7 separate regions of the Homo sapiens genome follow, and regions 2, 3, 4, 5, 6 and 7 are each linked to region 1. The links are contacts of gene promoters, found by promoter capture Hi-C in blood cells and fetal thymus (Javierre and others, 2016). All regions are on one chromosome and are shown on one strand. The core of a region is centred on a gene start or on the middle of the fragment in contact, and the rest is flanking DNA. Distances in the headings are between cores, read along the strand shown.

The links. The method cuts DNA at HindIII sites, captures the fragments that hold promoters and counts their contacts. A CHiCAGO score of 5 or more calls a contact.
Region 2: a contact is called between the fragment with the promoter of KCNN4 here and the fragment with the promoter of XRCC1 in region 1, in 3 of 17 cell types (neutrophils, activated CD4 T cells and naive CD4 T cells). The highest score is 6.3, in neutrophils.
Region 3: a contact is called between a fragment that was not itself captured here and the fragment with the promoter of XRCC1 in region 1, in 10 of 17 cell types (naive CD4 T cells, total CD8 T cells, naive CD8 T cells and 7 more). The highest score is 15.6, in naive CD4 T cells.
Region 4: a fragment that was not itself captured here is called in contact with the fragment with the promoter of XRCC1 in region 1 in 3 of 17 cell types (non-activated CD4 T cells, total B cells and naive CD4 T cells); the score reaches 5.8 in non-activated CD4 T cells.
Region 5: a fragment that was not itself captured here is called in contact with the fragment with the promoter of XRCC1 in region 1 in 8 of 17 cell types (non-activated CD4 T cells, monocytes, total B cells and 5 more); the score reaches 8.4 in non-activated CD4 T cells.
Region 6: a contact is called between the fragment with the promoter of ZNF283 here and the fragment with the promoter of XRCC1 in region 1, in 14 of 17 cell types (neutrophils, activated CD4 T cells, naive CD8 T cells and 11 more). The highest score is 17.8, in neutrophils.
Region 7: a contact is called between a fragment that was not itself captured here and the fragment with the promoter of XRCC1 in region 1, in 3 of 17 cell types (activated CD4 T cells, non-activated CD4 T cells and naive CD4 T cells). The highest score is 6.2, in activated CD4 T cells.

What each region holds. Positions count from the first base shown.
Region 1 is chr19:43,574,116-43,577,200 of GRCh38, reverse strand. It overlaps XRCC1 (X-ray repair cross complementing 1), which reads left to right and starts at 1,674. Exons shown (of 17, transcript NM_006297.3): 1 at 1,674-1,793; 2 at 2,199-2,291. The coding sequence starts at 1,743. It overlaps PINLYP (phospholipase A2 inhibitor and LY6/PLAUR domain containing), which reads right to left and starts at 1,400. Exons shown (of 6, transcript NM_001193621.3): 1 at 282-1,400; 2 at 1-86. The coding sequence starts at 9. RefSeq lists enhancers at 248-773, 774-1,300, 1,301-1,460 and a silencer at 1,561-1,720. The HindIII fragment of the contact is 21,720 bases long and covers 1-2,000 here.
Region 2 is chr19:43,779,262-43,782,476 of GRCh38, reverse strand. KCNN4 (potassium calcium-activated channel subfamily N member 4) reads left to right here and starts at 1,504. Exons shown (of 9, transcript NM_002250.3): 1 at 1,504-1,774. The coding sequence starts at 1,616. RefSeq lists a silencer at 1,253-1,522 and enhancers at 2,129-2,258, 2,617-3,116. The HindIII fragment of the contact is 12,714 bases long and covers 1-3,215 here.
Region 3 is chr19:43,440,854-43,443,886 of GRCh38, reverse strand. No RefSeq gene overlaps it. Among named protein-coding and RNA genes, the nearest start is that of LYPD3, 23 kb to the left of the region's middle. The HindIII fragment of the contact is 6,258 bases long and covers 1-3,033 here.
Region 4 is chr19:43,739,161-43,742,213 of GRCh38, reverse strand. SMG9 (SMG9 nonsense mediated mRNA decay factor) reads left to right here. Exons shown (of 14, transcript NM_019108.4): 7 at 1,996-2,107. Among named protein-coding and RNA genes, the nearest start is that of SMG9, 14 kb to the left of the region's middle. The HindIII fragment of the contact is 789 bases long and covers 1,092-1,880 here.
Region 5 is chr19:43,759,828-43,763,101 of GRCh38, reverse strand. No RefSeq gene overlaps it. Among named protein-coding and RNA genes, the nearest start is that of SMG9, 6.5 kb to the right of the region's middle. The HindIII fragment of the contact is 1,951 bases long and covers 521-2,471 here.
Region 6 is chr19:43,825,725-43,828,695 of GRCh38, reverse strand. It overlaps ZNF283 (zinc finger protein 283), which reads right to left and starts at 1,375. Exons shown (of 7, transcript NM_181845.2): 1 at 1,252-1,375; 2 at 415-494. RefSeq lists an enhancer at 1,318-1,517. The HindIII fragment of the contact is 6,325 bases long and covers 1-2,971 here.
Region 7 is chr19:43,795,674-43,798,799 of GRCh38, reverse strand. LYPD5 (LY6/PLAUR domain containing 5) reads left to right here. Exons shown (of 5, transcript NM_001031749.3): 4 at 199-345; 5 at 971-2,873. The coding sequence ends at 1,209. Among named protein-coding and RNA genes, the nearest start is that of LYPD5, 5.2 kb to the left of the region's middle. The HindIII fragment of the contact is 6,084 bases long and covers 1-3,126 here.

The sequences.
Region 1 (3,085 bases), core at 425-2,924:
GAGCCTCATGGTGTGTGTATCAGCAGTACCTGGTCCCCAGCTTTTATAGGAAGCTGAGGAGGGGTGGGTCTGGACCCACATTCACCCTACGGGGAGAAATAGCTGAGGTCAGAACCCAGGGCAGTCCTCTGTGGCCTCCGGGTTGGGAAGGCAGAACCAGAATCCAAAAGTGACCTGGGCATCTTGTGCCCAGCCCCCCACCTCCATGGAGACCCCAGGAGTCTGGGCTTCCATCCCCCTCTTCTATTAGAACCCAGAAAGTCACCACCCTGTTTTCTCACCTTCCCACGGCCCATTGTTGTTTGTTTGTTTGCTTGAAGACCAAGACGGAGTTGGGCCTCTTGATTCCCAGTGGCTGCAAGAACTGGGATTCCCTCTCCTTCTCTCTCTTCCCCTCTCCTCCCAAGGAAGCACCCAGTGTGGGTAGGGCCCCACCTTGGAGCACCCAGCATGTCCAGGCTGGTCCTGCGGGTGCGGGGTGCCTTGTCTCCCTTCCCCTCTCTTCATGTGCTCGGCTCACACTCCTTGTGTGTTTGGGCTGTCTCCAGCTGCGACCCCACCCAGGGCTGCACCCTTGGGTCTCCAAGGCACCGAATGAACAGAGGGATGTCTGTCGGCAGTCATAGGCGGGCGTAGTAAAAGACAGATGCCCACAGTCCACATATTGGGAAACTGAGGCTTTTGTGGAAGAACTCCAGGATAGGGGTGTGTGTGTGTGTGTGTGGTGGGGGTTGGGCACATGCTTTGTGTTATATTTAGGACGCAGAACCCTTCTCTTTTGGCCTCAGGCATAAGGCTGAAAGAGATCTGCTAATTTTTTTCGCGCGTGCGCGCGCGCGTATGTATGTATATGTGCGTGTGTGTGTGTGTGGCAAGGGGACAGAGAGAAGAGTGCAGCCGCCTGAGCCATTTGAAGAGATCCTGTTGCGTAGAATCCAGGTTCCCTACGAAACTACGAAAATTCACTCAGATTTGCTGTCCTAGCCCAGCGCAGTCGCTCACGCCTGTAGTTCCAGCACTTTGAGAGGCCGAGGCAGGTGGATCGCTTGAGCTGAGGAGTTCGAGACCAGTCTGGGCAACATGGCAAGACCCGCCGCCCTCTCACCCCATGTCTCCACAAAAAATACAAAAATTAGCCGAATGTGGTGGCGCGTGCGTGTAATCCCAGCTACTTAGGAGGCTGAAGTGGGAGGATCCCTTGGCCCCAGGAGACAGGGGTTGCAGAAAGCCGAGATCGTGCCACTGCACTCCATCCTGGGTGAGAGAGCAAGACCCTGTCTCAACAAAAAATTTTTAAAAAATAAAATAAATAATAATACAGCAAAAAGATTTGCTTTCTCGGCTTCAGTGTGGGCGGTAACTCCATCGTGCAATGAGAAAGGCGAATTTCTTCCAGACACCAATCCCGGAGGTCGCTTCTGTTGCTAGGCTCCCAGAAAGCAGGGTTCGGACGTCATTGGGAGGCGAGGCTAGAGCGGGGTTGTGTGTGGCGGAGGGAGGCGGGGCTGGAGGAAACGCTCGTTGCTAAGGAACGCAGCGCTCTTCCCGCTCTGGAGAGGCGCGACTGGGCTTGCGCAGTGTCGACGCCGGCGCCGGCGCGCCGGGGTTTGAAAGGCCCGAGCCTCGCGCGCTTGCGCACTTTAGCCAGCGCAGGGCGCACCCCGCCCCCTCCCACTCTCCCTGCCCCTCGGACCCCATACTCTACCTCATCCTTCTGGCCAGGCGAAGCCCACGACGTTGACATGCCGGAGATCCGCCTCCGCCATGTCGTGTCCTGCAGCAGCCAGGACTCGGTGAGGGACCTGCATGGGGGAGGTTGGAAGACGTGAGGGAATTAATGAGGATAGCTCTTAAAAGAGCTTTTGGGGTTCTCTTGGAAGTCTAAGGAGAGTCATGGGGGGATTTCCAGGAGGCTAAAAGTGAATTGTGGAGAGATGTTGAATTAGGGACGTTCCGGCGTCTAGGGAACTTCCGGAGAGAAAAGGAGGAATAGGGAAGCTTTCTTGGAGAGCCCATAGGTGAACTTCCACGGGAAAGTGTTGTAGGGGAAACTCCAGGCAGAGTGTCGGGGGATTAACGGGAGAGCTTAAATCTGGGGGTCGTAGAGGCCTTGGGAGGACTCAAAGGAATCATCTGAGAGCTGGAGGCCTAGCTGTCATCTCTGTGCCCTAATTCTCCTCTCCCACTGTTGTTTCCAGACTCACTGTGCAGAAAATCTTCTCAAGGCAGACACTTACCGAAAATGGCGGGCAGCCAAGGCAGGCGAGAAGACCATCTCTGTGGTCCTACAGGTGATCCTGCCACCCCACCTCCTCCTCACTAGGAGTCTGGAGTCCGGGGTTCCAGATTCTGCTCCTGAGCCAACTGGCAGTGGGTTTAGTCACTTTCTTTGCTGGGCCTCAGCTTCCTTACTCGGAAAATGGGCAGCATAATCCCTGTGCCCCTCAGCAGAGAGGAAAGGAGACCCAAGGATTAAGTCCAGGATGACCACAGGAATCAGTGTGTGGTCCTGGGCAGGTGGCATCTACTTTCTGGGTTCCAGTTTCCTCAGCTGGAACAAAATGAATCATTGCCACGTACTCTGCCTCCTGCAGCCAGTGGGCTCAGGGCTGGAAGGTGTCCAGGAAGGTCGTCTAAGCCAATCAACTCCACTTTAAAGAAGGGGAAACTGGCCGGATGCCGTGGCTCATGCCTGTAAACCCAGCACTTTCAGAGCCTGAGATGGGAGGATTGCTTGAGCTCAGGAGTTCCAGACCAGCCTGGGCAACATATCAAGACCCTGTCTCTATTTTTATTAAAATAAATAATTTTTTTTAAAGAATAATAGCCAGGTATGGTGGTTCACACCTGTAATCCCATCACTTTGGGAGGCCGAAGCTGGAGTATTGCATGAGCCCAGGAGTTTGAGACCAGCCTGGGCAATACAGTAAGATGTCATCTCTACCAAAATTTTATAGATTAGCTGAGTATGGTGGTGTGCACCTGCAATCCCAGCTACTGGCGAGTCTGAGGTGAGAGAATTGCTTGAGCCCAGGAGATGGAGGCTGCAGTGAGCTGAGATTGTGCCACTGCACTCCAGCCTGGG
Region 2 (3,215 bases), core at 255-2,754, 210 kb before region 1:
TTGTGTGGGTGGCGGTAGACCTCAGTGTCAGTAGTATCAGTGAGTGGTGACATCTGGTGTTTTATGGGACATGTGGTCGTTTGTGGAAGGTTGGGTGTGTTGGAAAACATTGTGTTTATGTGTTTTGCGTTACTGTGTGCTGGTGTATTACTCCGCGTATGTTGTTGTGTGGCCACGCATGTTGGAATATAACGTGTTGGGTTGTGTGGAGGTATTGTATGTCATGTTTGGGTGTGGCTCATGGCTCAGAGGTGATGGTGTATGTTGCGTTTGTTTTTTTGTTTTTGCTTGTTTTAGAGATAGGATCTTGCTATGTTGCCCAGGCTGGTCTCAAACCCCTGGGCTCCAGCAATCCTCCCACCTCAACCTCCCAAACTGCTGGGATTACAGGCATGAGCCACTGCACCCAGCCGTATGTTGCATTTGGGCACTGGGGTCTATGAAGGTCCAACCCCATCCCCTTCCCCCAGGGCATCATCCTGGATGTTGTCCTGTGTGGCCAGAATATACCAGAATCATCTTGCTTCAGGCATGTGCTTCTTGGGTTTCTCCGTGTGTCGCTGTACCTTGTAGGTCTCTGCATGCATCCACTCAGCTTGTCCTCTGACCATACATTTGAATCGCACCACACATCAGAGCATGCTGAATCAGTGCGTGTTTTGAATCATCACTGCGAGCACTTGTGTTCGAGTCAACAGGCGCCACAATGTATGTGCAATTCTCTAGCTCTGGGTGATTGGGGGCTACTATAGGTATGTCCCTAAATGTTGTGTGTCTACACGTATTGGGTTTCGTTCCAAGGGTGTGTAGTGTTTAGGAAACTGGGACTGCACAGTGTTTGTGTCGGTGTGTGGTGTGTGGCATCAGGGCGTCACTACTTTAATATATATTGTGTGTTTGTGTAACACCTGGTGTATGTTGTGTTTGTGTGGCCACAGTTGTGCATCGTCCTATTTGTGGTGTTTGGGTGTGGCTCTTTGTGTCAGAGAAAGTTGTGACAACTTTGAGTGTAATATTTGTGCCTGTGTGTGGACGGTGTTTGGGTGGCTGTGTGTGCCACGGGATACTGCCTGCTTGCTAAGTGCTGGTGTGTGTCACACCATGTGTGTGGTGTCTGGGTGTGGCTGTGGGTTTCAGAGCTTGCTGGGAGTTGTGAGTCACTCTGTGTAGGTTGTGTTGTGTGCCCTGGTGTGTTAGTCTCCGTCTTGGGCTGTGGAGTGTCCTTCGGTGTCTGGGTGTGGTGAGTAGAGGTGTGTGTCACAAAGTACAGACCATTGTGTGTGACAAAGCCCATCGTGTGTCTGTGTGTGTCTTTATCCACGTGGATGGACGTCTCTTTCTTGCTCTGCCCCAAGACACACCCTAGCCCCTCCTTATTCTCAAAAGGGGGAGCTGGGGAGCCTCCCCCTACCCTGGGGCCTCCCCTGCCCCTCCCCGCCCTGCCTGGCCGTCACCACTCCCCAGAGGGCACAGGGCTCTGCTGTGCCTCAGAGCAAAAGTCCCAGAGCCAGCAGAGCAGGCTGACGACCTGCAAGCCACAGTGGCTGCCCTGTGCGTGCTGCGAGGTGGGGGACCCTGGGCAGGAAGCTGGCTGAGCCCCAAGACCCCGGGGGCCATGGGCGGGGATCTGGTGCTTGGCCTGGGGGCCTTGAGACGCCGAAAGCGCTTGCTGGAGCAGGAGAAGTCTCTGGCCGGCTGGGCACTGGTGCTGGCAGGAACTGGCATTGGACTCATGGTGCTGCATGCAGAGATGCTGTGGTTCGGGGGGTGCTCGGTGAGTGGGGCATGGTGGCTGGGAGCTGGGACTCCTAGGTCTGAGGGAGGAGGGGCTGGGGGTCAGGACTCTTGGGTCTGAGGGAGGGGGGGCTGGGGGTCAGGACTCCTGGGTCTGAGGGAGGAGGGGCTGAGGGTCAGGACTCCTGGGTCTGAGGGAGGAGGGACTGGGGACTTGGACTCCTGGGTCTGAGGGAGGAGGGACTGAGGGCCTGGACTCCTGGGTCTGAGGGAGGAGGGGCTGGGGGTCAGGACTCCTGGGTCTGAGGGAGGAGGGGCTGGGGTCTGGACTCCTGGGTCTGAGGGAGGAGGGGCTGGGGGTCAGGACTCCTGGATCTGAGGGAGGAGAGGTTGGGGGCCTAGACTCTTGGGTCTGAGGGAGGAGGGGCTTTGGCTGGGACTCCTGGGTGCTCCCAGGAGACAGTTGCTGGGGTCCTTCTCTGCAAAAGGAAGGGAATATTTGTTTCAGTGTTTCAGTCTTTGAAGATGTTGCCATTAGACGGCCAGAGGTCCAGGACCCCTGGAGGCCAGAGGGTGGCTGATCAGACACTCAAGCCCCCCAAGAGCCAATAAGGGGAGAGGTAGCCCCAGGTTTGGTGAAGGGAGAGTGGAGGAAAGACAAAGTTCTTCCAGTAGGCGGCAGCTCTTTGGTCCTTGTCTAACCTCTAATGTTTACCCAGTGCCTTAGATGCAAAGGACAGAAAAAACTGCCTTGGGGGTGGGGATGGGAAATGGGAAACAAACCTCTCCCCCGACCTGCCTCCCCCCACCAACCCCAACCCAGTCTCCACTGTTAACAAGCTCAATTTCTCCCCAAATCTGCATGCTGATTAGTCAGGGAAATAGTGGAGAGGTAGGCTTACAGTGGCCTGGACTCCTAGGTACCAGGAGAGGAGGGGGCTGGGTCCTGGATTCCTGAGTCTTAAGGAGAAGGGGGTTTTGATTGCTTTTGGGGAAGAGGGGCTGACTCCGAAGATGAGTGGTGAGTAGGGAAGAAAGGGGAAAGTGGGGTCAGGGCAGGTCTCAGCAGGCTCCCGTCACATTCCAGCCCTGGTCAGGCCAGTGATGGGGCAGATCAAGGACAAGGGTTGGAATAAGTGGCTTGAGGGGAGAACAGACTTGCTCAACAGGAAAGGAGGGGCTGGAGACCTCTCTGGCAGAAGGGTTGTGGAACTGGGCTGGTAGGGCCAGATGCGGACACTGATATGAAGATTGGGTAGATTCCTGAGGGTCTGATGTTCCGACTTGGATCTGGAGGGGGTGGTGGGCAGCTCTGAAGTGACCAGGAGCCACATGGAGGGTCAGGCATGCAGCTTCCTCTGGCAGGCGGCGGGCACTGAGGGGGTGGGGCCGCCGAAGTCCATGCCAACAGGAAGCATGGCCGGGGCCTGCCCGCCGCTCCCACGCCGAAGCACCGCACCCAGAAGCCGAGGTGGGAACAC
Region 3 (3,033 bases), core at 202-2,701, 130 kb after region 1:
CTTTCTTCCAGTTTCCTGCCTTCACCTTGAGTTGTCCCACCTTTCTGGACTGAACCAATGTACATCTTACACCTACTGATTGATGTCTCATGTCTTCCTAAAAGGTATAAAACCAAGCTGTGCCCCTACCACCTTGGGCACGTGTCATCAGGACCTCCTGAGGCTGTGTCATGTGCGTGCATTCTCAACCTTGGTCTCCTAATTAACTTTCTGAATTAACTGAGACCTGTCTCAGATTTTCGGGGTTCACAGAGCAATTTATAAATCTTAACCCTGGTGATATGGTTTGGCTCTGTGTCCCCCCAAAACCTCATCTCAAATTGTAATCCCCACATGTGGAGGGAGGGACCTGGTGGGAGGTGATTCGATCTTGGGGGTGGTTCCCCCATGCAGTTCTCATGAGATCTGATGGTTTATAAGTGGCCGTTTCCCCTGCACTGTCTCTCCTGCCACCTTGTGAAGAAGGTGCTTGCTTCCCCTTCCCCTTCCGCCATGAGTGTAAGTTTCCTGAGGCTTCCTCAGCAATGTGGAACTGCAGGTCAATTAAACCTCTTTTGTTTATAAATTACCCAGTCTCAGGTAGTATCTTTTTTTTTGAGACAGAGTTTCCCTCTTGTTGCCCAGGCTGGAGTGCAGTAGTGCGATCTCGGCTCACAACCTCTGTCTCCTGGATTCAAGTGATTCTCCTGCCTCAGCCTCCTGAGTAGCTGATTACAGGTGCCTGCCACCATGCCTGACTTTTTTTTTTTTTTTGTATTTTTAGTAGAGACGGGTTTTCATCATGTTAGCCAGGCTGGTCTTGAACTCCTGACATCGGGTGATCTACCCACCTCAGCCTCCCAAAGAGTAGGGATTACAGGCATGAGCCACCTTGTCTGGCCAGTATCTTTATAGCAGGTAGTATCTTTATAGCAGTGTGAGAATGGACTAATACACCCTTTAATCTTTTCCTCACTTCCTTCAACACTAATGATTTTTGTGAACATTTATCTACTAACATATATTTAACATTATCTTTTTAAAAATTTTTTTGTGAGAGGGGGTCTTGCTCTGTCACCCAGCCTGGGGTGCAGTGGTGTGATCGCAGCTCATGGCAGCCTTGACCTCCTAGGCTTAGGCGATCCTTCTGCCTTAGTTTTCCAAGTAGCTGGGACCACAAGTGTGCACCACCATGCCTAGCTAATTTTTAGATTTTTTTTTTTTTTTTTTGAGACAGAGTCTCGCTCTGTCACCAGGCTGGAGTGCAGTGGTGCCATCTTGGCTCACTGCAACCTCTGCCTCCCAGGTTCAAACAATTCTCTTGCCTCAGCCTCCTGAGTAGCTGGGATTACAGGTGTATGCCACCATGCCTGGCTAATTTTTATATTCGTAGTAGAGATGGGGTTTCATTATATGTTGACCAGGCTGGTCTCAAATTCCTGACCTCAGGTGATCCACCTGCCTCAGCCTCCCAAAGTCCTGGAATTACAGGCGTGAGCCACCACACTCGGCCTTTTTAAATCACGTAAATAATACACAGACTTAATCCTGCTATAGAAATTCAAATGTAGAGTCAACCGTGAAAGTTTCCCTTGTCAAGATTCCCTGGCATCTCCTCTTCCATTCTACTTAGGACCTTGGAATGGGGAGATGCTGCATTTTGGAGGTAAAAATTCCAATAGTAAAGTGAAAGCTAGCATTTACTAAGCAGTCCCCATGACCCAGGCACATATGAACTTTTGAAGGTTATCAGAATCAAAATGGAGTCACTCATGTTAAAAAAAAGAAAAAGAAAAAAAAGCTCCGACCAACAGAGTGAAGGAAAGCCATGGAGAGAGGGTTCTCATACTTGTATGACTGATCACAAAAACTATCACAAAAAAACTGCAAAAAACACAATCTCACACAAAGACCATTGCAAACTTACACAGAAAAATACTTCTGCAAGGACGTTTGCCCAGCAACTGCCTGTCCAACCCCAGACTGGCATCATCTTTGTGATTCATTTTTCTAGCCAAAGATGATTATTTCAAAACCATTATGTAATTCTCCTCATTTTTTTTCTTTAAAAACCTTTGTCTTCTTTGACCTCCTTGAATATGTATAACACTCCTATTCCCATTGCAATTCTCTGTTCTTGAATAAACTTTTTTTTTTTTTTTGAGATGTAGTTTCACTCTTTCGCCCATGCTGGAGTGCAGTGGCATGAACTTGGCTCACTGCAACCTCCACCCCCCGGGTTCAACTGATTCTCCTGCCTTGGCCTCCCTAGCAGCTGGGATTACATGCACCTGCCATGATGCCTGGCTAATTTTTGTATTTTTAGTAGAGATGAGGCTTTGCCATGTTGGTCAGGTTCGTCTCGAACTCCTGACCTCAAGTGATCCACCCGCCTCGGCCTCCCAAAGTGCTAGGATTACAGACGTGAGCCACCTCGCCCAACCAATTTTTGTTTCTTTTAGAGAGCCTCTCGCTGTTTGTTATCTAGGTTGACAACTAATTTAATCACAATAAAATCCACACTCCAAGCTAGGAGTGGCCTGTGCCTGTAGTCTCAGCTACGTGGGAGGCTAAGACAGGAGAATAGCTTGAGCCCAGGAGGTTGAGGCTGCAGTGAGCCATGATTGTGCCACTATACTCCAGCCTGGGCGATAGAGCAAGACCCTGCCTTAAAAAAAAAAATGGCTGGACACGGTGGCTCACGCCTGTAATCTCAGCACTTTGGGAGGCTGAGGTGGGTGGAGTACTTGCGTTCAGGAGTTCGAGACCAGCCTGGGCAATATGGCAAAACCCTGTCTCTACTAAAAATACAAAAAATTAGCCGGGCATGGTGGTGCATGCCTGTAATCCCAGCTACTCTGGAGGCTGAGGCAGGAGAATCACTTGAACCCAGGAGATGGAGGTTGCAGTGAGCCAAGATCGCGCCACTGCACTCCAACCTGGGTGACAGAGCAAGACTCTGTCTCTAAACAAAAACATAAACAAACAAAAAACTTCCTAAATCCATTATCCCCATACTCTGATCTGTGCCTGCCTCTTAGATGCCGCCTCCTG
Region 4 (3,053 bases), core at 237-2,736, 170 kb before region 1:
CTTCTGAGTAGCTAGGACTACATTTGTGTACCACCATGCCTGGCTAATTTATTTATTTTTTATTTTTGAGACAATTGTCGCTTTGTCACCCAGGGTGGAGTGCAGTGGCTCCATCTTGGCTTACTGCAACCTCTATCTCCTAGGTTTAGGCAATTCTCCTGCCTCAGCCTCCCGAGTAGCTGGGATTACAGGCGTGCACCACCACATCCGGCTAATTTTTGTATTTTTAATAGAGACAGGGTTTCACCATGTTGGCCAAGCTGGTCTTGAACTCCTGACCTCAAGTGATCCTCCCACCTTGGCCTCCCAAAGCTCTGGGATTACAGGCATGAGCGACCATGCCCTTAATATTTTTTTTTATTTTTTGTAGAGATGAGGTCTTGCTGTGTTGCCCAGACTAGGTTATAGTTTTAAATAGGATGGTGAGGGAAGGCCTTGCTAAGGGGAACGTTTGAGAAAAAGCATGCTGGGAGGAGCATTCCAGTGAAAGGGACTGGCATGGGCAATGCGTCTGAAGTGGGAGCTTGCCCATAGTGTGTGTAGAAGAACGTGGCAGCCTTAGAAGGGGAGTGGTAGGAGATAAGGCCAGAGAGGCAGAGCGAGGCACTCTGGCACTGGGCCTTGTAAGCCTATCTCCACTTTTTCCACCGTACGGTCCTCACCACATAGCAGCAAGGGGACCTTTCAAACCACAGTCTGATCCTGTCACTCCTCTACTTACATCTCTCCAGCAGCTTCTCCAGGCTCATAGGCCAAAGCCTTACCATGCTCCACAAGGGTCTGTGTATCCTCTTCTTGCTCCCTCCCCTCCCACATGCACCATCTTTCTGCTCTTGCCATGCTGGTCTTTGAGTCCTAGTACAACAAGCCACCTACTTTCTGCCGATGCAACCTTCCTCTGCGTCCATCCCCCACCCAGTGCCAATTAACTCCCTCTTTCTCTCTCACCCTCAGCATTGTCATTTCCCTCTCCAGGGCAGCCCTTTCTGGCTCCACCAACTAAGCAATCTGCACTTGGAGCACTGCACGCCTCTTCTTTCTAACACCCACAGTTACTGATTTCTGGTAATTTGTAAACTAGACCAGAAGCTTCACAGAAGCCGACTTAGTCTTTTTTGTTCACTGCTATATCCTGGTATCTGGCAAATAGGAGGTTTTCCGTATAGTGTTTGTAAAGTGGAAGGATGCCTGCTTTGTGTCAGACAACAGATTATGCATCTTGAGGGGAGATAGAAATTACCCCTTGAGAGGTAGGTACTATTACCCTGATTTTACAGATTTCAAAAGGTAAAATCACTTTGCCCAAGTCACAGAGTCACCAAGTTGAACTTAGTGGTTTAGGGCACGGCCCTGCTCTGCCTGCTTTGCCCTCATATTCCCAGCACCCAGCACACGTAGAAGTGAGGGAGACTCACCTGACAGGGGAAGATGCTGGGAACAAGACCCAAACTCTCTCTCACTGTGGGAGTGGAGGGCACTCAGTGCTCTCTCTCCAATGCCTGGGATCTAGTAGGTTTATTTGATAATTAACAGCTAAAAGTATATATCATTATATATCAGGCACCATTCTAAGGGCTTTACACATACCGACCTCACAGTAATACACAGAGTTTTGATCATGTGGTTATCCCCGTTTTATAGATGAGGAAACTGATGGAAAAAGGTTAAGGAGTGTGCCTAAAGCCACACAGCCAGGAAGAGGCAGAGCTGGGATCTGAATCCTGGCAGACTGGCGGAGTCTCTGCCCTTCAACACCTCAGTGTACTGGCTTCATTAATTGAACTAATGGATCTCTTTATGGATAGGAGTGAAATTGTGTGCTTCAAAACATGCACTACCCCCGCCTCCCACCCCCTGACATGGGCCACAGATGAAAAGCTTAGGGAGCAGGCAGGGCACCACGGCTCACATGCTCAGCTCACAGGGTCACACTTCGGATGCATCCAAGGCTGAGAACCAGAGCTCTCACACACCCCTGCCTGCTCCTCTCCACAGGACTTATGTTTTCCGGGCCCAGAGCGCTGAAATGAAGGAACGAGGGGGCAACCAGACCAGTGGCATCGACTTCTTTATTACCCAAGAACGGATTGTTTTCCTGGACACACAGGTGCCAGCCCCGCCTGCCTTTGCCCCACCCTGCCACATCCTGCATTGAGCCTCTTCCTGGAATGTGATTAAGCCAGAACCCTGCGTGGATTCCATGTGCTTCCAGTCAAGCCATGGACATACTGGCTGCCCTGGGGCAAATTGTGTCTTTTCTTGGCCCTTAGTCTCTTGTCACTTTTGCCCCCATCTCATTCGCCTTCTACACAGTAGCCTAAAGGATTTCTAGTATAGTGCTGAAAAGTGTGGGCCCTGGAGAATGTGTGTTCTGATCCTGTCTGTTAGTTCTTACCAGCTGGGTGACTTTCAGTTTTAAACTCCCTTAAACCACAGCTCTTTATCTGTAAATAGGGATGGTAACTGTACTTAGCCTCTTAGGAGTTTCAAGGATTCAGTGGAACAATCCAGGCAAAGTGCTTGGCCAGGACCTGGCACAAGGTTAGTGCTCAGGCTCGTCACTGTCGTTAGCACTGACTGGTCCTGCGTTTACCTGGCAGTTTTCCTCGGCTTCTCCCTTCCTCTCAGGCAAAGTCCAGATTCCTTAAGCTGGCATTCGGAGGGTGTGGCTTGCCTCCCTCAGACTGCCTATCCTCGCCTCTGGAGGAGCCACCAGACCCCCAGCACACACACACTGATCTCTCTCTTCTCTGGACTTCGCATATCCCGTTTTTACCTGAAACCACCAACGAATTGTGTGACCTTGTCAAGTTATTTATTTTCATTCCTCAGTTTTAAGTGGGAAAAACAATACTGCCTGCCTCATAGGGGTTTTGTGAGGTTTCAGTGCATCGATGCAAGTAAAGTCCTAATGACAGCACCCAACAGGAGTTAGGTGCTAAATACCCTTAGCAATTAATACCATTATCAGTACAATAGGCTCTCGCCTTGCGTTTTTGCCTGGCTAACGCCTTCTTCTTCCTCAAGACTCCACTGGGGTGTGGCCTCCTCTC
Region 5 (3,274 bases), core at 247-2,746, 190 kb before region 1:
GAAGGAACCCTGCTGCACGCCCTGGTGTGTATCTGTGTCTTGGGCTCTGCAGGGTGGTGGTGAGATTCAGCCATGCTGCTCATCCTTTTCATTACACAGTAGTATTCCATTGTGTCAGTATGCCCACAAGCCTCACCCGGGGGACTCTGCAAGCTCAGTCTCTCCCCGTCTTCTGGCCTCCCCTTCTCCTCCCTGTCCTGGCTGCTCAGGCCACTAGGCTCCTCTTCCTTCCCAAACTGCCTGCTGCTCTCCCCTCCTTCTTGCCCCATCCACTCAGAATAAAAATAAACATCACTAACATTTATTCAGTTCTTTGTTGTAGAGACGGGGGTCTCACTATGTTGCCCAGGCTGGTCTCAAACTCCTGGGCTCAAGAGATCCTCCCACCTTGGCCTCCCAAAGTGCTGGGATTACAGGCAGGAGCCACCATGCCCAGCCCAGCTATTTATTATGGTCCATAAAGGAAGCTGTATCATCATCATCAACACCAGACTGGCAGTCCAAAGGCATGCTTTAAGCTTTTATGTTGTGTGGAATAGCTGCTAACATATACAAACCAGGAGAGTGCTTTTTATAATTTGGAGGGGGTGTCAAATGATAAAACTTTCCTTTCTTTTTCCAGGATGAGCTGGCCCTTCTTCAAGTCAAGTCTAGCCCCCTCACCCTGTCCACACCTCCTCAAAAAACAGCTCCAAAGTCTCCTGGTCTCTTTTCCCTCTATCATTCCCATCTGCACACAAACATGCTATAATTTCTCCCATCTTATAAACATCCCACTGGAACTTTCAGAAGCATTTTAGATTCTCCATTTTCCTTAAAGTTCACTATTCACCAAACTGCAAAATATCTGTCGCTCTGTCACCTAGGCTGGAGTGCAGTGGCGTGATCTCGGCTCACTGCAACCTCTGCCTCTCAGCTTCAAGCAATTCTCGTGCCTCGGCCTCCCGAGTGTAGCTGGGATTACAGGTATGCACCTCCACCACGCCCAGCTAATTTTTTGTATTTTTAGTAGAGATGGGGTTTCATTATGTTGGCCAGGCTGGTCTCGAACTCCTAGCCTCACGTGTTCTGCCTGCCTCTGCCTCCGCCTCCCAAAGTGCTGGGATTACAGATGTGAGCCACCAAGCCCGGCCATAAAGTTGGTTCTAAACTCCTGCTACATAGAATGACATAAAAGACTTTGCCAGACATAAAGAGCTAAAGATGCCAGACACACGGAAGACATGCTGTAAGATTTCATTCGCATGAAGTTCAAAAACAGACACAACGAATCTCTGTGCCTGTTTTTGAAAGGCATTAGATGGGTGGTTGCTTCTGGAGCAGGGGAATTGACAGGGAAAGAGCACAAGGAAGACGTCTGGGTGCTGGAAATGTTCTCTGATTAGCGGTTACATGGATGCATAAATTTGTGAAAATTCATTACCTGGTACACTTAAGATCTGTGCCCTTTATATACTTTACCACACTTAAGTTATATGTCACCCAAAAAGAAAATAAATAAAAATAAAGAAAAATAAGTACTTATACATTTTTCCTGATAGATACTGAGAAGGTTCCATAACACAGTTAGATGGGGGATCAAAAGTCATGTCTTTTCCATGGTGGACCCCACATCTGCCTCCAGCTGCTGCCCCGTGTCTCTGCTCCTTAGTCCATTATCTTCTCTTTGGAACCCTTTGATCCCATGGCGCCAGGTCATCCCCTCTCCTGACACTCCTGGCTCCATCTCAGCCCCTCTCCAGGATCCTGGCTTCTACATGCGGGATGCTCAGGCCTAGTCCCTGCTCTCTTCAACCTCTCAGCCTAGATGATCTCAGCAAATCATAGCTTTAAATATCATCTATAAATAGGCAGCTCCAAAATTTAGCATACTTGTATAGTTATTAACAAAATGACAGGTTATCTGTGATTTTCTTAAAACAAACAAAACTCCAGGGGGTGGCGGGAAGTATGCTTATATGTGGGAGGGAAAAATAGAAGACATAAGACAAGAAAAATGCAGATGTCTGTCAATATTGGGCGATGGGTACGTGGGAGTCTCTTCATACCATAACATCTTTGTGTGTATTTTTAAAACTCTGTAGTGACTGTAATCCCAGCCTTTGGGAGGCTGATGGGGTGGATTGCTTGAACCCAGGGGTTCGAGACCAGCCTAGGCAGCATAGTGAACCCTCATCTCTAAAAAATTAGCCGGGTGTGCTAGAGCATATGTGGTCCCAGCTACTTGGGAGGCTGAGGCAGGAGGATTGCTTGAGCTCGGGAGGTGGAGGTTGCAGGGAGCCAAGATCGTGCCATTGCATTCCAGCCTGGGTGACAGTGCAAGACTTTGTCTCAAAATAAATTAATTAATTAAACTAAATTCTGTGACGCAAAGTCAGAAAGTCTTTATCTACAAACCCCGGCTTTTTCCCCTAACTCCAACCACTTATTTGATGACCAACGTGCATCTCAAAGTTAAGAATTTCAAAGCTTGTTGATTTCCCATCAAAAGTACTTTTCCTCATCCCGGTAAAAAGCCTCAGTCTTAGGCCGGGCGTGGTGGCTCACGCCTGTAATCTCAGCACTTTGGGAGGCTGAGGCGGGTGGATCACGAGGTCAGGAGATCGAGACCATCCTGGCTAACATGGTGAAACCCCGACTCTACTAAAAATACAAAAAAATTAGCCGGGCGTGGTGGTGGGCACCTGTAGTCCCAGCTACTCGGGAGGCTGAGGCAGGAGAATGGCATGAACCCAGGAAGCGGAGCTTGCAGTGAGCCGAGATCACGCCACTGTACTCCAGCCTGGGCGACAGAGCAAGACTCCATCTCAAAAAAAAAAAAAAAAAAAAAAAAAAAAAAGTCTCAGTCTTCAGGCAGTTGGCCAGGACCAAAACCTCTCGAACTTTTTTTTTTTAATTATTATTATACTTTAAGTTTTAGGGTACATGTGCACAATGTGCAGGTTTGTTACATATGTATACATGTGCCATGCTGGTGTGCTGCACCCATTAACTCGTCATTTAGCATTAGGTATATCTCCTAATGCTATCCCTCCCCCCTCCCCGCTAGAACTTTTTTTAATGCTGCAAATAACATGATGTTTTAATATATGTACACATTGTGGAATGGCTAAATCAAGCTAATTAACATATGCATTATTTCACATACTTATTTTTTTGTGGTGTGAGAAAACTTAAAATCTATTATTTTAGTAAGTTTCAAGCATATAACACATTGTTATGAATGAGAGTCACCCTGTTGTACAACAGATCTCTAGGATGACTTTCAAGTCAC
Region 6 (2,971 bases), core at 126-2,625, 250 kb before region 1:
AACAGAGTGAGACCTTGTCTCTAAAAAAAGTTAAAAAAAAATTTTAATTATGACTACAGAAAAGATAAAAAATAATGTTTATATAACACCACCTAATTACTAATCTCTTCAAATAATCATAGTATAAAATAATGCTCTAATAGCAATCTACAAGAGGTGCCTTTCTATAACTCTTCAGTGCATCATAATGCACTGAAGTATTTGAACAATTTGCCATATGAACAGGTGGGTAAGAATTGTGGAGAAGAACAATAGGGGGCCACTGGGAGGAAATATGTACCAGCATGGCGGGTCATGTAACTGGGAAAACCCAGTCAAGATATTTCAGGCCAAGGAAAGAAAATGTTCTCATGACCTAGAAGCAAAGGTAATTGTATGTGTATGTATTTAAAAAGTATGTATAAAAAACCTCACCTGAACCTTGATTTCTAAACATGCAAAAATCCTTTTCTCCTCTTCAAACTCCTTCTTAGAAATCTGGCAACCTGGCAGCACTGGGGGAAAAAACAGTAACATGAGACATCAGCATTTCTAGCGCGTCACAGACTTAATTAAAAAAGAAAAAGAAGAGCAAAACACCCTCTGGGGCCACTTCTGCCTTCATCCACACAAAACCAAACGGAATGAAAAGGGAGGCTAGAGTCTGTCTCTGTGTTGAGGGCAATTCTTGGGGACAGAGGTCTGCTTGCAATGGCTCTGAAACATGTAGCTCACCACCAAAGAGCTCCTAGAGGCCCCTCTTCTAGGAATCCCACCTCTAGAACTTCCCCATCAGGTCTTGACAAGATCCTGTCCCGCGGACACTTCCAGATCTAAAATTCTCATCCTTCTTGCTTGAAACGTTCATTATGGGGCTTAGCATAGACTTCTTTCTTGCGGTCATTTAATTGTGGCAGGCCCGAAGACAGGCTAAAGGGAACCTAGAGCATTTGGTCAAAGCAAATCACATTTACAAATACGGCCACGCACCCTGTCAGCCCGTCACACATTCACAACTGCACCCACCTCCGTGGGGACACGCCCCGTCCCTGCCACGCCGTCTGAGACACACTGTCCCTCGGCTGCTCGCGTGCACACAGGCTTGAGGATCCGGACACGACACGCTCTGTCCGTGACCCAGCCCTCCCCACCTCCAGCACCCCCGATGCCACCCCCACCCTCACTGCCGGTTCCAGTCGGGCCCCAGTAAAGCCAGCCGAGCCCTCCCAGCTTCACCCGGGCTGATTACTTCTACAGACACGACCAACTCACCATGCAGAGTCCAAGAACCTTAAGGACACCGGAAAAGGACCCAGAGACCTGTGGTTAGTTTGGACCCAGAGGCTGATGGGAAACAAGAGCCTGGAAATGCTCGCAGGCTGGGAGAGGAGCTTCTGGCAGGCAAGCTCGCCCCGCCCCTAAAAGGCCTGTGCCCCGGAGACTTCTGGGAAATGTAGTCCACAGCGGCAGAGTCTCCGGAAGTTGAAACCTGGACAGCAGGGATGCTCCCAGCATGCAACTTGGCTTCACCTGTCAAAGGCGCTTTTTTCGAAGACGCCCGGGAGCTCTTGCTTTTGCTTGAGGGTCTTTGGTGTTGACTGAGAGCGAATTAAAAGGTTCTCAGCTTTCGCTAAGGAACGCATTCTGGAGTCTAGAACAGGCGAAGATGGGACTGGGGTGTCTGGGGACTTAGACGTGAGCGAGCAAGGGAATCCGGGGTAAGTTCGCTGGAAATGACCTGCGCGACACTACCAGTTTACCTGGGTATGAGCGCCTGGAACAGTGTCTGGCAATTGAACAGATGGGTGTGTCTTGCTGTGAGGGAGTTTCTTAGTTCGATTCGGTGTCTGGGACCCTGCGTGGACCTGTTTATGTTCATGGGATGTTTTCTAAATTTATGCCTGTGTGAGTCTGTTTTATTAGGTGTGAGATGAACTGTGTTACAGATTTTATATGCCGCTGTTGAAAGACAACAATAAGTGGTAGTGAGTGGATATTGTGACCGTGGAGACTTATGGCAGTGCAAAGGCGGCCATAAACAATGCACAAGCAATCCAGCATGGCTGTGTTCCAATAAAACTTGATGGATTATAAAATTTGAATCTCATTTTTTATAGAGTATGAAACCATTTATTCTGAAGCACACACTCATACTCCAAAAACAATACTATATATTCCCTCTCTCTCTCTCCTGTGTGTTTGCGTGTGTGTGTGTGTGGGTGTGTGAGAGAGAGAAAGGTTTTAAAGGAGACAACTAACTGATTCTGAGGTTAGGGCAAAAAGATTGGGGCTGTGGTTGGTGTGGTAAGAACCTTTGGATATAAATACTTTTTTAAAAAAGAATTGTCTAAAAATATTAAAGCGAAATTTTATATTAAAACTAACAGAAAGAAAAGGAAGTTACTTTTTAGGGGCTCTTTCTGGTCACTGATATCACCTCTCTCATCCTCTGCCATCTCTCACCTCCTGGTCTCTCTTGCTTATCAAGAGAAGACTAGAGCTCTTGGATCCCAGCTTTTCCCCTGCCTCAGCTGAGGCCACTACCCTGGTTGACTCCCATGGTGACATGGATGCCTCATCCAGTATCGTGGGTCTGAGTCCTCATCTGCAGGGTCCTTGAGCTTTCCTCGGCACCCATCCCCGTTTCCCATCTGGGACTTCATTATCATCAGCATCTGCTCCACCTCCAAAACCACTGGTGGAAGCAGCCTCCTCTCTTCCCATGTTACTTGCTCAATGACTCCCACAAGTACTACTCTGAATATTTTGGGGGTCTGATTTTTTTTTAATTTTTTATTTCCATAGGTTTTTGGGAAACAGGTGGTGTTTGGTTACATGAGTAACTTCTTCAGTGGTGATTTGTGAGATTTTGGTGCACCCATCACCTGAACAGTGTACATGGCACCCAATTTTTAGTCTTTTATCCCTCACCCCCTTTCCACCCTTTCCCCCAAGTCCCCAAAGTCCACTGTGTCATTCTTAGGCCTTTGCA
Region 7 (3,126 bases), core at 431-2,930, 220 kb before region 1:
GCGGGGCTGGGCTCCGGGAGGGACGATGAGAGGCCTGGCAGCCTCGGGGAAGGCGTGGCCTCCGCTGGGCGCCTGCTCTTGGCGCGCTAGGATCCCAACCCCCGAGACGTGCTAGGCGCGGGCTCTGGCGCAGTGCGCAGCCCGCACGACTGTGCCAGGGTACCACTGCCTGAGTGTGCATCTACGCTCTCTTGCCAGCACCCGACCCGCCGACGCTCAGCGGCGCCGAGTGCTACGCCTGTATCGGGGTCCACCAGGATGACTGCGCTATCGGCAGGTCCCGACGAGTCCAGTGTCACCAGGACCAGACCGCCTGCTTCCAGGGCAATGGCAGAATGACAGTTGGTAAGGGGCTGGAAGGGTGGAAGGGCCTGGGCAAGGGATATGGAGGCAGGGCAGCCATGAGGGTAGTGATACCAGACAGGCCCAACAGGGAGACATGGCCCTGCTCTGAGGTGGGAGGCATGACCCTGGTCTGAGGGAGAAGGTTTGACCCTGGTCTGAGGGAGAAGATTTGGCCCTGGTCTGAGGGAGAAGATTTGGCCCTGGTCTGAGGGAGGAGGCATGACCCTGGTCTGAGGGAGGAGGCATGACCCTGGTCTGAGGGAGGAGGCATGACCCTGGTCTGAGGGAGGAGGCAAGACCCTGGTCTGAGGGAGAAGCCTGGCCCTGCTCTGAGGAAGGAGGCCATGCCCTGGTCTGAGGGAGGAGGCATAACCCTGGTCTGGGGGAGGAGGCATGGCCCCTGGTCTGAGGGAAGAGGCATGGCCCTGGTCTGAGGGAGGAGGCACGACCCTGTTCTGAGGGAAGAGGCATGGCCCTGGTCTGAGGGAGGCCTGGCCCTGGTCTTAGGAGGAAAACCTGAAGCAAGTCTGAGGACCGAGGCATGGCCCTAGCTACCAAGGTGAAGGTTCAGGTGCAGCTGTCTCCCTCAGTTCTGACCGTTCCTCACTGCTTTGCCCACCTCCAGGCAATTTCTCAGTCCCTGTGTACATCAGAACCTGCCACCGGCCCTCCTGCACCACCGAGGGCACCACCAGCCCCTGGACAGCCATCGACCTCCAGGGCTCCTGCTGTGAGGGGTACCTCTGCAACAGGAAATCCATGACCCAGCCCTTCACCAGTGCTTCAGCCACCACCCCTCCCCGAGCACTACAGGTCCTGGCCCTGCTCCTCCCAGTCCTCCTGCTGGTGGGGCTCTCAGCATAGACCGCCCCTCCAGGATGCTGGGGACAGGGCTCACACACCTCATTCTTGCTGCTTCAGCCCCTATCACATAGCTCACTGGAAAATGATGTTAAAGTAAGAATTGCACTCCTGTCCCTCTGGCCTTCCATCTCTCCCGCCCTTGTGCCCCACAACCTGGCCAACAGTACTGGAAGAAACTGGACACAGTCACCAGCATCCCCGGGGAGGGCAAAACAGCCATGTCGTGCCCCGATGAAGAGCAATTCTGATCACAGCTGTTACTCACTGAGCACCAGCCAGGCACCAGGCACCCCATAACACGGCTTCCTGTGCTCTCCCTCCAGAGCCTGTCGCAGCTCTAGGAGGGAGCTATACAATGATGTCTTTATTAGTGTCATCATGAGAAGCCCAATAAGCAGTATGCCCTAACAGTTAGTAGGCCAGGCTCTGGAGCTAAGCTGCATGGGTTCAAATCCCAGCTCCACCATTCAGCCTGCAGAGACCATGAGCGAGTTACTTAAGCCAGGCTCTGGAGCTAAGCTGCATGGGTTCAAATCCCAGCTCCAGCATTCAGCCTACAGAGACCATGGGTGAGTTACTTAAGCCAGGCTCTGGAGCTAAGCTGCATGGGTTCAAATCCCAGCTCCACCATTCAGCCTGCAGAGACTGTGGGTGAGTTACTTGAGCTCTCTGTGCCAATATTTTCTCACCTATAAGGTGGAGGTGAAAATAAACTCTATAACATGACAAGAACTACTTCACAGTAGTTGCAGTGAGGATTCAACGAGATGAACATTTAGTACTTGGGACACAGCAGTGGCCCAGTGTAAATGGGCTACTTGTCATAAGCCCTAAGTCACAGGTCAACAAACTGAGAGGCAAAAGCACTTGGTTGAGCTTGTGTATCTAGTGAGTATGGATTCAGGGACCAGATTCCCAGCCCCACGAACTGCTAAGCAACCCCACCTCCTAAACACATGAGTGCCGATTAACTTCACAGAAAAACACACAAGGCAAAGTTCAGCGAGGTGAAATTCTCCAAGCTATAAAGATCAGGGAAGACTTCCTGGAGGAATTCACCCTTGAGCAAAATCCTAAAGGATCAATAGTAGCTGGCAAAAAGAAGCAGGAGGAAGCGCATTCTAGGTAGAGGAGACAGCCTGGACAAAGGTCTGAGGGAGGAAGGAGCACAAGGAGTGCAGGACACTTTCATGAGTGCAGGACACTTTCATAACTGCATGAACTTCATAGAGATGGGATCCTTTAGCATGTTCTCTGTGCACATGCTTGACCATGTTCTTTCACATGCTTTTTGCCACTTGATCTTTCCAGCAACTCAGTGAGAGAAGCAAAAAAGTAAGTTGCATCCTGCTATTGTCTGAATGTTTGTGTCTCCCCAAAATTCATCTTTTGAAACCTAATTACCAAAGTGATATTACTGGGAGGTGGGGCCTTTGGGAGGTGGTGAGATCATGAGGGTGGAGCCCCCATGAATAGGATTAGTGCCCTTATAAAAGAGGCCCTGGAGAGCTGCCTTGCCCCTTCCACCACATGAGAACACAGCCAGCAGGTGCCTATAAGCAAGAAAGTGGGTTCTCACCAGCCATCGAATCTGCTGGTGCATTGATTGCAGACTTCCCAGACTCCAGAGCTATGAGACATAAATTTCTGTTGTGTATAAGCCATACAGTCTATGGTATTTTGTTACAGCAGCCTGAAGGGACTAAGACACCTTCCTGTTTTACAGACAAGATGCCCAAAGCACAGTGAGAGAGCAATTTTCAGAGTAAGTGCATAGCAAGAGTAGACTCCCGTGTCTTCTCGCTCCATGTCAGCAAGTAGACTTGTGGGAAGGGGGGCAATTCAGAAACACTCCGCTCCTATGCTCCTGTAAGGCCATGTGACAAGGGCTTCAGGTGTCTTTACATCCTGACATAC